3 separate regions of the Homo sapiens genome follow, and regions 1 and 3 are each linked to region 2. The links are contacts of gene promoters, found by promoter capture Hi-C in human tissues and cell types (Jung and others, 2019). All regions are on one chromosome and are shown on one strand. The core of a region is centred on a gene start or on the middle of the fragment in contact, and the rest is flanking DNA. Distances in the headings are between cores, read along the strand shown. Region 1 overlaps CABIN1 (calcineurin binding protein 1). Region 2 holds the start of SUSD2 (sushi domain containing 2). Region 3 overlaps CABIN1 (calcineurin binding protein 1).

Region 1 (3,051 bases), core at 30-2,529, 35 kb after region 2:
AGGGAGGCAGGGAGGGAGGGAGGAGAGGAGGGAGGGAGGGAGGGAGGCAGAGAGGCAGGGAGGCAGGGAGGGAGGGAGGGAGGCAGGGACGGAGGGAGGGAGGCAGGGAGAGAGGGAGGGAGGGAGGTGCTGCTGGGATACATTCCAAGAACAAACCTCTGAAAAATAACTTGTGGTGGGAAATGAAGTTCATGCTGAAAAATGCTCCTCTATTCAGGAATGTTAAACAGCGAGCTCCTGACTGAATACCCAGGGCAGCTGGGGGCAGAGGGGGCTGTGGGCTGAGGTGGTGGATGTATATACAAACACTGGCATCCCACTAGGGAAAAAATAGCAGCTGCTTCTGATAGGCTGGGCAGAAACTCCGGCATGGAGGCTGGCCCAAGGGACATGGGTTCCCAGTCTGGGCTCTGCCACTTACTGGCTATATGACCTTAGGCAAGTCATGAGTGCGCTGTCTGCAGAGATTCTGCACCTCCTAGCAGGATGGTCATGGGGATTCCATGGGATCATGAATGCTAAGGGCTTAACAAGATCATCTTCCTCTGCCCAAGCATCCTGGCTTTGCCAGAATTTTGAATCCACATCTGGAGATGAAAACTGTCTCCGGATAGCCAGAAAATAATTTATACCAGGAACGATGGTCTAAAGGCTGCTTACATTTTATTTATTTAATTATTTTTTTAAAAATTCTAACTGTGAATGCAGGTGGCCTGGCTTTTGCTGTGGTCCTGTCAGGGCAGGGGCCTGGGTAACCTGTGGCCTTGTCCCTGCCACTCCTCTGTGTGTACTTCCTCCTACTGACCTCTCCTACTGGTGAGGACACACTGTAGCTTCTCAGGCAGGAAGCACCCCCTCTCCACCTGCTGCCTCTCAGGCTTGCCCCTCCCCAGACAGGGCGGCCTTCAGACCTGCTCCAGGCTGAACACGGGGGCTGTGCAAGCCGGAAGCTGTGAAGTTCCACAAAGCTTGCAGAGCCCAGGATGTGGGAAGGAAGGAGAGCTCGGGGATACATTTAGAATCCACACAAGTTTGCTAACTCTTTTAAGACTCTTAAAAACAGGACCTTTTTTCCCTGGAGAACTTGAAGTGTTTCTTTTGTTTACTCTGCTTGTGCAACTGGCCCATAGATCATCTCAGCAATGCTAAAAATAGTGCTAGTGCAGCAATTCCTACTACAGCCAAGTAGCTCTTATTTCCTCAATTTAAACTTTTTTCTTTCTTTTCTGTCCTATGATTCCCACTGTTATGTGACTGGGTTTCCTTTGATCCCCTGACAGTCCTAAGGGCTGCTGCATACCTCAGTTAATCTTAGTGATAGAGGAGGTACTCAGAGAGGCCAGATGACCTGCCTAGGTCACAGCCAAGGGCAGAGCCAGAGGCAGAAGCCCAGCCCATTTCCTCACCAGCCAGGGTGGGATGTCTACAGCCACTGGTGACTTGTTATCATGGGGATACCCCAGGAAAAGCCACAATCAATCCCAATTTCTTCTGAAAACCAGATGACATTGCGCATTAGGAGCTGAGACTACCCTTGGGGAAAGAGTGGGATAATAAGCAGCACCCTTCCATCCTAGCACGGCCTTGAGTGGCATCTCTACTGTGTTGCGTCCATCCTCCACTGAGGACACTGCTTGCCCTCAGAGGCATCCTAGCGCCCTGTCCATTGGAGGACAGACATATGCATGCACGCAGACCCAGGGCCACATGCCTGGCACACCAGGCAGAGACACACGGGACGACAGATCTGAGCATCAGAGTGCCAGGGCTGAGCACCAGGTCCCCCAAGCCCACCTCCTCGGCCCTCTTGTACTCCGCTTCCCCTCATCCCATCAGTCCACAGGCAGTCTGGGTCCTGGCTCAGAACACCTAAATCCTGGCTCAGGTGCAAACTTGCTGTGTGCCTGTCTCGTTTTCTTAATTTGCGAGGCAGGGACAATGGCACTACCTACATCTCATGAATTATGAGAATTCAACAAGCCATTGTATGTAGAAGTGCCAAACACAGCACTTTGGAGCCCTGAGGAATGGTGGGTTGACAGTGCTCCTGCTGCCTCTGCCCCAGCCCCAGCCCCAGCCCAGCCCCTCCAGTGCATTCAGGGCAGCTAGTGCAACACCTGGAAGACGCTCCTCAATTCAGTCCCCCTTTCTTTGTGAGAAAGACCAAACTGCACCTGGCCCAGGAAAACAGGGTCCAGTGGTGGCCAGCTGGCCACCCACCACTGCGTATAGCATGCAACTCTGCGAGGCCCTCCCTGATGTGCATGTGGCACTGTCTGTGCCCCACACTGTGCCTCATGCTGCATCTTCTGCTCAGAAGCCTGGCCCTGTTCTGTCCTTCACAGGCATGTCCTCTAACGTCACTCTCCTGTCATTCTCACACTGTCTGCTCACTTAGGTGATGGGGCCTGTGCTCCAGGAGGGGCAGGCCTGTCTCCAAAAGCACATGTGCAAAAGTGACTCCCATAGGGGCTCAGGCAGGATCCAACACTAGCCTGGGCAGGGCTGGAGATAAGCTTGGGGAAGGCTGGGCTGTGCAGTCACATTGAGCACAGCAACACGGAGCACAGCAACACCTGGCAGGAAAGCCCTGACTGGAAATGGCCTCCACCAACAGTCTGAACAGGCCTAGGATGGCCTTGAGGGAGAGGTGGGCAGGAGGGGCAACAGAGTGCCAGGTGAGGCCCCAAAGAGGGAAGTCAAATGTGGAGGAGATTTACTTGTGGTTTCTACAAATTGGGGCCAGTGCAGCCCAGCTGCCCCTGTGCCCATGATCTTCCCATCTACCACAGGCCTTCTCAAAAGACACTGTGAGCTCTGGGTTCCATGGCTGCTGGATCATGTGCTCTGTTTACCTGATCATCTCCCCTAGGGACCTGGGCACCCCTTGAGAGTGGGCCTCTCTAATGGCTTAGTGGAAGATGACATGCACCATCAGGTGACCAAGGGCTGGGCAGAATGCTTCACCACCAGGAGGTCTCAGCCCTGCTCTCTGATGGTGAAAGCAAGGGAGGGACAAGAGAGTCCACCTCCTGGAGAGGCAAGGAGGAG
Region 2 (3,043 bases), core at 318-2,817:
GAGGAGAGGATGCTGAGGGCCTGGCCCGGCGGGTACTGGACTGGCTGCCCCATGTGCAGGGCCTGTCTCTGTTTCTCCCACAGCCCATTAGACAGCAGCATCCCCAGGAGAACGCTGGCCAGGAACTGCACAGGCCACCAGGTGGACACAGTAGAAAGCCACAGGGCCCGTGGGGATGGGATGAATCTTAGCACAGACCATCTGGCTGTTGCCCTGACTGACGGGCTAGAATGCAGCGAGAAGAGGCAAAAAGCTGCATCCGCTCAGCCCTGCAGGGTCAGGAGAAGCCCCTGGGCATGACTGCCCTTCAGCCACCAAGTCCTCTATCCCACAGGCAGGGGTCCTCAGTGGGCCACGGTAGCTGGAGCCCTCGACCTCTCTTGGCTCCCCAGGGTGTCTGTGGTCAGCACGCCTTCTGGGGGCCCTGAAGCCTGCAGAAGAACCCCTCTTGCTTGCCTGGACTGGGGTGGGGGATATGGCTGCCAAGAGTCTCATTTGAGGCCTGGTAGGGAATGGTGCAGGGTCTGAACGTGACACTTCTCGCTCTCCCAGGGGCTGCAATTGAGACCCCAAAGAGAGCTCCGTGCTCAGGGCAGAAGGCCAGGGCCGCTCCCCTCCTTTCTGGGGAGAGGAGGGACATTTCAAGCAGGGGTCCCAGCAGTGGGGAAAGGGAAGTGGGGGTGCACACCACAAGGGGCTGTGGGCGCCGGGCCCAAAACTTCTCCTATGGGCCATAAGACCGGTGGGCAAGGCCATATTTCCAGGGGCTGGCATGAAGGAAGGGTTGCAGGGAGGGACTGGGGCAGGTGCATGCACCCAGGCTGGAATTGCACTTCCCTGGCCCTTCCCCATCCCCCATCAAAAGAGGCCAGTCGAGGGCCAGGCCTGGGCCTGAGCCACCCCGCTGGCCCCACTTCACCAAGTGCAGTGCCTGGCACTTAAAAGCAACAATAAATATGTACTGGCCAAGGATTTGGTGGCGCACAGGGGTCGGGGGAGGAGGCCGAGAGATGCTTGCAAGTGAGATAAGTGGCAAGAGGGTCGATGGGAAATGGGGTGGGGGACGGGGGGCAGCCTGGGACCAGTGTCCTGGTTCTGGAGTTCGGGGCTTTCCCTAGACTTTCCTGGATTCAGCCCCACCCTGATGAGGACCCACAATCCTGGCTCCCCCTCCGTGATCCCGCCCTGTCAGGGCTGGGGACACAGGCGGAGGCCTCTGCTGGTCTCCCCCGCCTCCCTCCTAGCTACCAGCAGGTTTAGGGTGGGCCCGGCTCAGACCTCCCATCCCCATGGGCTGCCCCTCCACATGGACCCTCAGAATTTCTTCCCATCACCCCTAGCACAGCCACAGATGGCCTGACAGATGGACAGAGGCTGAGCCCAGAGGGATGTCAGCCCAGGCCTGGCTGCAGACAGATGGACAGACAGACGGGGACACAGAAGGGCAGGGAGGCATACCTGCTGTGGGTCCGGGGCCCGGGCCGAGGGCTGTCGCCAGCAGCAGCAGGGCCCAGGGCAGGAGGGCTGGCTTCATGGTGCAGCCTGTGTCTGCAGCCAGCAGTGCAGTGGCTCCGAGGCGAGGCGGCCAGACAAGCTCACTCCCTGCTGGCCTGGCCCCGCCCGCCCTGCACTCTGCGGCACCGCCCCGCCCCGCCCCTCCCCGCCCCTCCCCACCCAGTCCCCTCTCAAAGTCCACAGGTGCCTGCGTGGACCAGCAAGGCCCAAGTTGCCCCGTTAGCACATTCCTGGCCCGCAGGCCTGGATCGGCCCTGGGACCCTGTGGGAGGGTGAGGAGGCCGGAGCCTCCAGCCACAGGACCTTTGGCAGGCGATGAGCCGGATGTCCAGAGGGCGAAGCTCAGACCCTGGGTCCCAGCCCCGCCTTGCATGCAGGGCGAGCCCGGCGGGGCTGAAGCAGAGGATGGGATGCGCAGGGTGAATAAGGCAGGGCTGTTTTAGCTCCAGGGAGGATTCCAGACTCTGTGGCCCTGACATAGACCTCCATCTCTAGCCCTCATCTTCCTGCAGGAAGGAGGTGCACCCAACTCATCCTCAGGGGGAGGCAGGAGCTGTTTGGGTCAGACACAGGCTGAGCCCTGGGGCGGAGGCAGCTCTGCAGGGGTCCCCTCTGGAGGGAGGAAGGAGGAAGGGGAGAGAAGGTACCCAAGCCCAGCGGGGGGCCCGGAAGGGAGACAGGGCCCATCCCCGGGCTCCAGAGATGCCACCACCCTGGGGAGCCTTGGCTGTCCCAGCCACACCTAATCCTGCCGCTAAGAGTTTGCATAATTTAATCAGTATTCACCTCCCTTCTTGAGCAGATGAGGAAACTGAAGCTCAGATGCGGATAGGCAAGGCCGAGCCAGGCCCTTGGTGGCTTCTGGGAGCCCCTGCAGCCAGGGCGGGTGGTAAGGGCTGCGGCCTGGGACTGGTCATTTGGACCCTGACACCTGGGCTGGACATCCAGACAGGCGGGTGGTCCTCTCCCAGCTGCAGCTTCTCAAGGTGTCCAAAAGGGACCCTTGCCACACTTGCAGGGAGTCAGAGGTGGCCCCAGGGCATGAGCTTAGGCCATCCGGTCTGTGATCTGCCCCAGCGCTTGCGGCCAGGCCAGCCCATTGTTCCCCGGCCTGTTCTCTCTCTTGCCTGGGTGGTGCCTGCTGGGAACCACAGGGTGTTGGCAGCCACCCGTGGCTCCAGAGAGGTGGCCCCTACTGAAAGTGTTAGAGGCGTGTGCTGGGGGACTTGGCTCCTGAGTCCCCACACAGAGCTGTTCCAGGGAAGCCACACCCGCATTTGATGTTTTCCCACCTCCCAAAGACATTTGGTGAGAGGCCCCCAAGACCTTCAGCTTCTCAGGGACTGTCTCCAGAGGGGAGAAAGTCCCTTAACCCACAATGGCGCTCAGGGCACCTCTGCAGGTGAGTGTCCTGTAAGTGGACGCTCAGGTGCTGAGCCAGGGAGAGCCTGTCTCCTGGCCCCAGGCTGGCGAGGGCATTCATCCCAGGCCCAGGGCTGAAGTTGCTCCCTACAGCACTGGGTGCAGG
Region 3 (3,186 bases), core at 360-2,859, 53 kb after region 2:
TCACACTGCTGGCTCATAGGCACCTCTGAGAATGGGAGGAGGCCCATGGAGCCACTTGCCAGATAACGGCACATTTTCCTTGGCTGCATTGGCCCTGAGGCTTGTGCACATAGACCCTCCTGTGACAGAGGGCAGATGGAGGGCTGTAAGGTCCTGAAGAGAAGTAGGGCAAAGAATCGTAGAAGCATACAGGCACCTTATGTCCTCCCTTGCCTACTATCTGGACCATCCCTGCTTCACAGCAGAAGGCAGAGGGGACATCTAACTCCTCTGCTTAAAGGCCTTTGGGCTGCACCTGCCTCAGGGCAAGAGTCAGCTCCATGCCTCAGTCTACCTGCCTACCCGCTGGCTCATCTCCCCCATACCCTCCAACCCCTCTTTGTGAACAGCCCTCCAGCCACACTTGTTCCCACCTTGGTCCCTGGAGGTCTCTCTACCTGGTGCCACCTCACCTTTCCCCCTGATGCTCCCCTGGAATACTATTCCCACAGCCCCATGGCCACCTTAAATAGCCTTTCCACTGACTCGCAGATGGGTCTGCTGTCTGCCCCTACTTCTCTATCAGCCCTATAAGGGCAGGGACACAGTCTGACTTCACTGATGGCTCCTCCAGGACAAGTCTAGTTTGAAGCTCACAGAAAAGGGTGCAATAGTTGCCCACAGGAAGAATGAAAAGAAGCTGAGCAGTCTGACCTTTCATAAAATGGGAAGGAAGCGTATGTCAGGTTGAGGGAGGAGGGCAACAGCCATGGGGCGTGAGTGGGGCTGCTTGGGTCCTTCCCAAGGCCAGGGTGCCAGCACTATGCTCCCTGGGGCCAGCTAAGCAACAGTCCATGCCCTTGAGGCTAAATTTCAATGCCAGCCCCCGCCCACTAACTCGCACTACTCTGCCAGCAATCGTTTCACTACAGCACACATTGGGCTGACTGTCATAGCTCCTGGAACTCCCCACGCTCCCTTTCTCTTCACACAGGAAGCAAAAGCTTGGGGTGAGGTGGCTTGCATCCCTACCTGTAGCCTTCCATGGGCCCTGCATGTAGTGGGGGCTTGGCAAAGCCTGTTGACAGCTGGAGATGGGAAAACAACTACTACCCTCTGGGGACACCTGCTGTCCCAAGATGTGCAAAGCCGTAAGGCAGACCTGATCCCAGGTGCCATCTGTCACTATTGTATGGTGGCCTGGAGGATGTGCTCTGCCTGTGTCACCCAGGGTCTCTGCCCCCAGGGGCTGTCTCCCTGCCACAACCAATGATGATGATCCACTCACCACTTAACTACCTCCTGCCTCACGAATCCACAAGGGACAGATGGTGGGGCTCAGAGAGGTCAGGCTCTACAACTCCTACATGGTGACTCCAGGTGTGCAAACTGTCTGGTGGGGATCCTGGAGCAGTGCCAGCCTATCTGCAAGACCAGTAGGGCTCCACAGGGCTGCCAGGAAGGTGGCTATGGACCTCAGCTGTGTTCAGCCCTTCACCTAGCCATACCTCAGGCATTGGCACGGGGGCACAGATGGTGCTCACGGGTTCCATGACAAATGGAGGAAACAGGAGTGGTGGAGGGCTTGGCCAGGGAAGACCTTCTGCAGCCTTTGGAGCCACCCAGGACCTCTTGCCCTGTGTGAAGGGGAATTGGCTGGGAGCCCTTGGAGTAGTGTTCTATAGGCCAGAGGAAGAGGAGTGTGTGGCTACCTGCTGATGGGAGACTCAGTGGGCTGCTGGGGACACCCATAAGCTGCGGGCACATACCTACTGCAAACTCACCCCAGCAACCTAGGACATGAATATCCCCATAGCTAGACCTGGTAGACTTAAAGCCAACCATTCCTGATACTTCTAATCATGAAAAATTATAATTAGAATGTCTGTTTGGATAAAGCCAAATATTAAGGAGTTAGTGTAAAAGCTGTGCCCACCCTCCCCCCGCCCCGAGAATCCTGTGTAGGCATTAGAAGTCATGCAATCAAAGAGTTTATGAGTACACGAGAAGCAAAAAAAAGCAGAACCACATTTGCATACATTTCTGTGAGTGTGTGTCTGTTTGTGTGTAAAGAAAGTAGGCAGAAGATGGAAAGGAAATGCACCCAACATTCCTGAGAGTTGCCTGGGGAGGGAGACTCATGGCAATAGTTCTCAATGGGGGTGGGGGTCTGTCCCCAAGGAGGCATCTGGCAATATCTGGAAACATCTTTGGTCATCACAGCTAGAGGAAGGCTACTGGTATCTAGTGGGTAGAGACCAGGGATATTGCTGAAAGTCCTGCAGTGCACACACAACATCCCCACAACAGAGAATTATTTGGTCCCAAATGTCAATAGTGCCTCAGGAGGGAACTCTGTTCTACGTTATTCATATATACTCATATATATACAACTGTTCTAGATCACTCATATATATATATATATGAAAAGTTAAATACAGTTGTTGAAGATGATAGATGTGCAAACTTTCTCACCTGATTCACAACATTAGAGAATCAGAACAGAAGCAGGATGAATGACTATCTGTGGATTGACCTTGACTTTTCTCTTTCCTTCACACCCCACAGGTCCTGGGCCAAAGAAATGGGGTCTGATTGGGCTAGCGCTGCCAGGCTGCTACTCGTCATACCTCATCTAAGTGGAATCATTCAGTATTTGCCTTTTGTGACTGGCTATTTCACTTAGTATTATGTCCTCTAGGTTTCCCATGTTGTCTGATCCATTGATTCAGCTCTTCTGTCTGAATCCATCTAGAATCAGACTACTTCCTGATATCCTGCTGTGGCCTCCTCCCATCTCTGCTGCCACACTGACTTCTTCTCCACCTGTGTGGACACATTCTCAAGCTCCTGGGCCTCTGACTACTGGGTGGGTTTGACTGAGGGAATTTGATCAGAGCACTCACTCCTTGAATTCCCTCCCTGTGGAGTTGATGAGGGGCAGCCATCAATGGCCAGCCCCGACAGGCACCGCGGCTGGTCCAGGGTACCACACTCCTCCTCCCTTGTGAATTCCTACTCTCTGCCTGGGCCTGTGTAAGTTGCTCCTTCATTAAGTGCTCTTCAGACTTTCCTGTTAGATGGGGCCATCTGTGTCCTGCTAGGCCTCTGACAGGCCACCCCCAACTCACTCTTTACATATCAGCCCAGTAGTGTCTCTGACACACTCAGGCCACATGGAGCCTGTCTTCTTCCACAACCTTGCGA

What was found. Contacts are between HindIII fragments. The study calls those that stand out against the background at their distance.
Region 1: a fragment that was not itself captured here is called in contact with the fragment with the promoter of SUSD2 in region 2 in 2 of the 25 tissues and cell types used here (dorsolateral prefrontal cortex and spleen).
Region 3: a contact is called between a fragment that was not itself captured here and the fragment with the promoter of SUSD2 in region 2, in 3 of the 25 tissues and cell types used here (dorsolateral prefrontal cortex, mesendoderm cells and spleen).

Annotation. Positions count from the first base shown.
Region 1 is chr22:24,144,304-24,147,354 of GRCh38, reverse strand. All of the region lies in intron 29 of CABIN1 (calcineurin binding protein 1), which reads right to left. Among named protein-coding and RNA genes, the nearest start is that of SUSD2, 36 kb to the left of the region's middle. RefSeq lists enhancers at 739-1,033, 898-1,117, 1,734-2,469, 2,470-3,051. The HindIII fragment of the contact is 6,827 bases long and covers 1-3,051 here.
Region 2 is chr22:24,180,011-24,183,053 of GRCh38, reverse strand. SUSD2 (sushi domain containing 2) reads right to left here and starts at 1,567. Exons shown (of 15, transcript NM_019601.4): 1 at 1,459-1,567. The coding sequence starts at 1,534. The HindIII fragment of the contact is 36,064 bases long and covers 1-3,043 here.
Region 3 is chr22:24,127,040-24,130,225 of GRCh38, reverse strand. All of the region lies in intron 28 of CABIN1 (calcineurin binding protein 1), which reads right to left. Among named protein-coding and RNA genes, the nearest start is that of SUSD2, 53 kb to the left of the region's middle. The HindIII fragment of the contact is 5,404 bases long and covers 1-3,186 here.